Linked DNA regions of Homo sapiens: region 1 is linked to region 2. The links are contacts of gene promoters, found by promoter capture Hi-C in blood cells and fetal thymus (Javierre and others, 2016). All regions are on one chromosome and are shown on one strand. Each heading gives the region's core, a stretch centred on a gene start or on the middle of the fragment in contact. The rest is flanking DNA. Distances are from core to core; before and after follow the strand shown. Region 1 holds the start of PLK4 (polo like kinase 4). Region 2 holds the start of PGRMC2 (progesterone receptor membrane component 2).

The links. The method cuts DNA at HindIII sites, captures the fragments that hold promoters and counts their contacts. A CHiCAGO score of 5 or more calls a contact.
Region 1: a contact is called between the fragment with the promoter of PLK4 here and the fragment with the promoter of PGRMC2 in region 2, in 10 of 17 cell types (fetal thymus, non-activated CD4 T cells, naive B cells and 7 more). The highest score is 26.3, in fetal thymus.

The regions. Positions count from the first base shown.
Region 1 is chr4:127,879,313-127,882,778 of GRCh38, reverse strand. It overlaps PLK4 (polo like kinase 4), which reads right to left and starts at 1,886. Exons shown (of 16, transcript NM_014264.5): 1 at 1,615-1,886; 2 at 853-948. The coding sequence starts at 1,644. RefSeq lists an enhancer at 1,563-1,802. The HindIII fragment of the contact is 5,077 bases long and covers 1-2,909 here.
Region 2 is chr4:128,286,114-128,289,430 of GRCh38, reverse strand. It overlaps PGRMC2 (progesterone receptor membrane component 2), which reads left to right and starts at 1,618. Exons shown (of 3, transcript NM_006320.6): 1 at 1,618-2,058. The coding sequence starts at 1,641. RefSeq lists silencers at 323-617, 989-1,178, 1,499-1,678, 1,689-1,738, 1,919-1,978. The HindIII fragment of the contact is 4,970 bases long and covers 1-3,162 here.

The DNA of each region.
Region 1 (3,466 bases), core at 637-3,136, 410 kb after region 2:
TTGGCTAATTTTTTTTTTTGAGATGGGAATTTAGCTCTTGTTGCCTGGGCTGGAGTGCAATGGCGCGATCTCAGCTCACCACAACCTCTGCCTCCCGGGTTCAAGCGATTCTCCTGCTCAGCCTTCAGAGTAGCTGGGATTACAGGTGTGCAGCACCACACCCGGCTAATTTGGTATTTTTAGTAGAGATGGGGTTTCTCCATGTTGGTCAGGCTGGTCTTGAACTACCGACCTCAGGTGATCCACCCGCCTCGGCCTCCCAAAGTGCTGGGATTACAGGCGTGAGCCACCGTGCCCAGCAGCAGCTAATTTTTGTATTTTTGGTAGAGAGGAGGTTTCACCATGTTGCACAGTTGTTTTCAAACTCCTGAGCTCAGGTGATCCACCTGCCTCAGCCTCCCAAAGCGTTGAGATTACAGGTGTGAGCCACCCACCCGGCTGACAAATAATTCTTAATTTGCTTATGTTTATGTTACTCCTATTAGGCTGACTTCTAACAATCAAGAATAATATTTTGTATGTTACAGGGAAATACAAAATTATACACAGTGAACTATAAACAAATTATTTGTTAGTTGATTTCTACTCATTACTCCAAGTATGGATAATTACACCACATACGAGGTCTACTGAACATTAATGAAGATAAAACTTACTTAAGCAAGGTCAAGGCTTTCCTAAAATATTTTTAAGTTCAACGGCTGGACTTGGCACTATTGTCTTCTGCCTATGTAAAGTGTTCCTTACACTATAATCAAAGGAAAGGCTAGTAGACAAGGAGTTTCTGACATCTCTGATACCTCTCTAGTTACTTGCAAAGTACAGGAGAGAAGTTGATTAGTTTATTCTTACCATTTTGATTGCAACTTCCAAACCAGTGTGAATGGACTCAGCTCTGTAGACACCAGCAAATGATCCTTTACCAAGCAGATTTCCAACTTTAAAATCCTTAAAAGTTAAAATTAAAGATTATGTGTGATGACTCACAGTAGAAAGGAAGATGGGAAGGGGCTGGAAAAAGAAGATAAAATGGATCGAGTGGGGAATTTGACAAAATTCAAGCGGGTATTACACCTCGATGCAGCAGGTGTCTAGGGTGGAAGGCATGTTGACTCCGTGCGGGGATACCTGCGCTTCCAGGCTGGACTGGAAGCTCAGGGTGATGGTGCACCCTAGTGATCTGGTTCCTCAACCTCAGTGCAGCCTAAGCGCCCTCCTCCCATCTCCAGCCAATCCCCGGGAGCGGAGGGCTCGGTCAGAATCCCGCCGCAGCTCCCGCCGGAGATAACCGCCATCCCCTTGGAGAAGTGGGAGGTAGCCCTGCCCTGCTCTAACGCGGTAGCTCGGGCGGGATTGCTGAAAGAAAGCCGCAGTGCCTCGGGACACTGCCGGGCGGGGAGGGACTCACCTGTCCCGCCTTCCCTACTCTTGTCTCTTGAGGGGCGGGCCGCTCCGCCCCTAAACAGCAGGGGTCTGGGCCGTTGGGACCCTCCCTAAGCACCTCGGTGCCCGCCCCGCAGCCGTTAGCTTCGTTCGCTCCCCTTCCCACAGCGGTCTCGTGTCCTCCCACAATTACTCCCACCCGCCCCGCTGCAGACTGCCGAGTCTTTTCACCTCGATCTTCTCCCCGATGCAGGTCGCCATATTTCCAGGCTCTGGCCTGGGTTCTCCGGATTAGCTTCCTTCACGCAGTCCCTTCGAGGCAGCGCTCCAAGCAGCCAGCCGGCCTTGGCGCCCATCAGGCTCGGCTCTCTAAACCGCCGCTCCAGGCGACGACGCTGAAACCACGGAAAGTTCTCCCTGACACCTTCCGAGGCCTGGGCGGTGCCTCTGGGCTCCCATTTTGAAAATCTCCCGCCGCTTGCCGTCCGAGCTAGGCTGGTGGTGACGTAACGAGATGGATCGCTCCGGATAGGCTGCGCCGGGGCGCGCATGCGCGGCAGACCTTCCTTTGCGGCCGGCCCAGGGTTCTAGACTTCGGGGCCAAGGGCCGGAAGCGCTGCGGAGAGTTTAGTTCGGGCGGGAGGCTGTCTCGGGCCCACTCTCGGAAGAACTTCTGCAAGACGGGTAAAAGAGCAGGCCTTAAAGATGGGACACTTATGGCTGATCGGTTACTTCACGGTCCGAAATACCACTTCTAATTCCGGAAAGGGTTTAAAACTATTTTAAAATGTCAAGCGTTTAAGACTTGACGGAACAGGGCAAAAAACATTACCTTCCTTTAAGGAACACCGTTTACACCACTACCGCTTATTCCGTAGTTTGTTATAACTGTAGTTAATGTGTACGGTACCTTAAGAAAACGAACTCCATTCTTTATTTTGGCAAACTCCTAAGTATTTAATATTATAATGTCATTTGTATAATAATTTACAGTTAGATCTCTCATACACATAATTTGTATGGATCAAAAGAGACCTCTGTAAGTTTGGGATGGTGTTTTGCAGGTGAGAAAAGTGTGATGCTTAAGGAAGGATATTTAACAAACAGAAGTAGCGCACAAACTTAGATCTTCTGTTATTAAGTGAAAGCTCTTTTCCTTGATGTTAGTGTGTATTTCTTTTTCTTTTTCTTTTTTCTTTTGAGATGGAGTCTCGCTCTGTCGCCCAGGCTGGAGTGCAGTGACTCGATCTCGGCTCACTGCAGCCTCCATCTCCTGGGTTCCAGCGATTCTCCTTCCTCAGTCTCCCGGGTAGCTGGGATTTACAGGTACGCGCCACCACGACTGGCTAATTTTTGTATTTTTAGTAGAGACGGGGTTTCACCATGTTGGCCAGGCTGGTCTCGAACTCCTGACCTCAGGTGATCCGCCTGCGTCGGCTTCCCAAAGTGCTAGGAATACAGGCGTGAGCCTCCATGCCCGGCCCATTTTTTTTTTTAAACTTTTTAGTTTCAAATAATTTTAAGCTTACAGAAAAGTTGTAAAAATAATAGAGAACTCCTGTTGTCCTTTACTCAGATTAACCAATTCTTAACATTTTGCCACACTTGTTTTTACTATTCTTCATGTGTAATATACATGTATAAATATATAAATAAGCCTATTATTTGTATTTTATGAATCATTCTAAAATAGGTTACATACACTATGCTCTTATACCCCTTATTTCTAAAGTGTGAATTTCTTAAGAACCAGGGTATCCTCTTGTATGTTTATCAAATTAAGGATATTTAGCATTGATACAATATTTATATTTAATCTAATCTACAGTTCATATTCCGATTTGTCAATTGTTCCAGTAATGTCTTTATTTAACATTTTTTCCTTCCAGTATAGATCTAGTACAGGATCACATACCGTATTTAGTTACCATATCTTTTTAATTTCCTTTAATATGGAAGAGTTCCTCAGCATTTGTATTTTTGTGACATTGAGATTTTTGAAGAGTGCAGGCCAATTATTTATCATTCGTTCATTTGTTCATTCCAGTATTACTGAGGTATAGTTGACAAAAATTGTATTTAT
Region 2 (3,317 bases), core at 369-2,868:
CTCTCCCTCAGGTACCTCTAATGCAGGGCTCAGCAATATGGCTTATAAGTTGTTTTTGCACCTCTCCAGAACTAAAAAAAAAAAAATTTACATATTTCAATGATTTTCTTAAAAATCAAAAGAATATTTCATACCTGAAATTATATTAAAAATTCAATGTCCATAGTTTTACTGAAGACAGCTACACTCATTCAAGTATTGTCTATGGCTGCTTTCTCGTTACAAGGTAGAGCTGAGTAGTTAAGGCAGAGACTTAAAATATGATCGGGCCCTTTACAAAAAATGTTTGCCAACCCCTGCTCTAATGTCTCCCCTAGCTCTGAGTCTCCTCACCTCACGCACAAATACCCTAGCCTACTAACTGCTTTCCCACTCTTTCCCCAGCCTCTAATCCTTCAGACACCTGGTTGCTATACAGCCTCTCTACAAGAGTGTCGACCCTGTCACTTGCCTCGTCAATATCCTCAGTGACTCCTACAAAACCGACAGTGAAAGGTTCAAACCTATTCTATGAGACTCAAGACAACAGACAACAAAGGGCAAGAGAGAACACGTCAAACGAGTTCGTCAAACGAGTTGAGTGCGTGAGACTTCAGAGGTCACTTTTTCACACTAGAATTTCAAGGTGTGAGAGGCTAAAAGACGTCCAAGTACATGAAACAGAACCTGCAAATAAGAGTGAATGACGAATAGAAAGACCACCTCAACCTGTCCACTTCCCTACGGCCGCAGAAGTTATGATTCAAGGAATAATGAGACTCTAAATCCTTTAAAATTCTACAAGAGCAGCCTTTGCCAAACCCAGCGGGGAGTGGCTGCTCGGTGCCAGCGCGAGGAGCACGTAGACTGCCGATGCCAGAGAAGCCCGGTGCGGGTTCCGTGCTTTCTCTCCGTTCCAGGAAGACCCCAGCTCGTGGCCAAATCTTCTTGCCGCTTCCCGGTCTGCGCGCCTACGCTGCCGGTTTCCCGACAAAAGCGACGGCGCCCTGGTGAAAAGCAGACGCCCCTCATCGGTTTGCGCCTTGCAGCTCAACTATGCCCCAGCCTCCCACAAGCCACCTGCCCGCGTCCTCCGCCAGGCGTCCAGCCCGGACCTGCCCCCGCGGCCGCCAAGGCGCACGTGAAGCTCCCGGGCGGGGGGAGCGCAAGGAGGCGGGAGTTTGCGGACGCGAACGCAGGCCTAGGAAGGGAAGCGATTCCAGGGCGCACGCGCAGAGCCTGGAGACTGGGCGGGGCGTGCCTCCCGCAGGGGTTACGAACGAAAGGCGAGCGCGTGGCGCTCAGGAGCCCGCGCACGCGCTGTGGTCTCGCCCCGCCCATGAGCGTCCGCGCGGCCGTCGTAGCATCTTTTCTTCAGACCCGCCCGGCTCGTCTACTTAACCTAGCGGAGGCTTGGAGTGAGAGCAGGGAAGTGTGGGGCGAGGTGGGCGGGGCGTTGCACGCGTGCGCGGCCAGCGAAAGAAGGGAGGGGGCGGGAGATCCGAGACAACGTTACCCCGTCAACACCCAATCAGGAGCCGGCCTGACCCCGCCCCCTCTTCTCACGTTATTGGCTGAGAGGCCCCCAGATGGGCGGGGCCGGCCGTGGGGTTGGGGAGGGCAGGGGGCGGGGAGGAGGAGGAAGGCGCTGGCGGGCAGTGATGGCGGCTGGTGATGGGGACGTGAAGCTAGGCACCCTGGGGAGTGGCAGCGAGAGCAGCAACGACGGCGGCAGCGAGAGTCCAGGCGACGCGGGAGCGGCAGCGGAAGGGGGAGGCTGGGCGGCGGCGGCGTTGGCGCTTCTGACGGGGGGCGGGGAAATGCTGCTGAACGTGGCGCTGGTGGCTCTGGTGCTGCTGGGGGCCTACCGGCTGTGGGTGCGCTGGGGGCGGCGGGGTCTGGGGGCCGGGGCCGGGGCGGGCGAGGAGAGCCCCGCCACCTCTCTGCCTCGCATGAAGAAGCGGGACTTCAGCTTGGAGCAGCTGCGCCAGTACGACGGCTCCCGCAACCCGCGCATCCTGCTCGCGGTCAATGGGAAAGTCTTCGACGTGACCAAAGGCAGCAAGTTCTACGGCCCGGGTGAGGAGTTGGAAGGGGAGGGGAAGGACCCCCTGCAGCTGAAGCACAACCCCCTTCGGACAGGGAGGCCTCTGGGCACCGGGTTAGTTTGCCCAGCCTTCTCGTCTCCGGGACCCCCGCGCCTCGGCCGCCGCACCTGGGACGGCCCATCCCGCCCCTACACACACACCGTCCCCCCGCAGCTACGGGCACCTCCAGTTCTTCCCCCGAAACCAGGGTCCCCGGTGGCGCCCCAGAGACCAGCTCTCAGCATTCATCTTTCTTCCATCCCATTTCTCCTCGCAGCCTTTTTTTTTTGTTTCTTTGGCTGGATTTTTCAAAATCGTTTTAGTTGTCACAGGTCAACGCTGGCCCTTAACCTTTTTTGAGTCTCCTGATTCCTGGGATGGATGGGGCACCAGGGAAGGGAGATTTCTGAAGTTGGGACCTAAACTAAAGTTTTGGGCTCTGTAATTCACCGTTTTCTTTTCCTTGCCCCCTTTTTTTTTTTTTTTGCCACTGATCTCCTTTTTTCCCTCGCTGTATTACTCCGTAAGGCCACGTTTAGGGGCATGTAAAGTCCCAACCCTCCAGTCTCTGAAGTCCAGACGTATAAGCAACACCTCGGACTCTCTTTAAACCAGTTTTAGTTCGGAGTTGCTTTCCATGATTAACAAGGTATGTGGGATGAGAACAGACCAGAATGCAGAGCTTATTAAAGACTGGTAAGGATATTCACCTTGAGTTTTGGGGGTGGAGCTCCTATACCCAGCAGGCGTGTCTCTGGTTTCTTTTTTCTTTTTTTTTCTCTTTTCAAGTACACGTTGATAATGACTTGTGTTTTCACTTAGCAGAACTAAGGAGAAAAAACTTAGAAGAGTTGTAGATTTATACCCCCATGTGCCAGTTATGCAAGTTAAAGATTTTTAGAACTTTGTTTTGAGAGAACTTTGTTTTCAGGGAACTTTGTGTAGGGTAGTTGATTTAGACGCCCTTTTTTTACAGTGTGGTTGTAGCATACATTTTGGATTATGTTAATAAACCCCAGACTCATGGAACCTGTTGGTATATCATACAGTTGAGCAACATTGTGCATCCTGGTTGTGCACTGATTAATACTAAGCTTTAAAAAAAAGTGGTGACTACAATAAGAATAAATAATTAAATTAGAGACCTAAAGTGACCTGTTATTGGAGAGAGTACCTCCAAGCCTTAAAGTCATAGGGTTGGCAGTCTGGAAGTAAGCTGGTTTTCTCCTTAATTTAATCTGTAGGTGTATA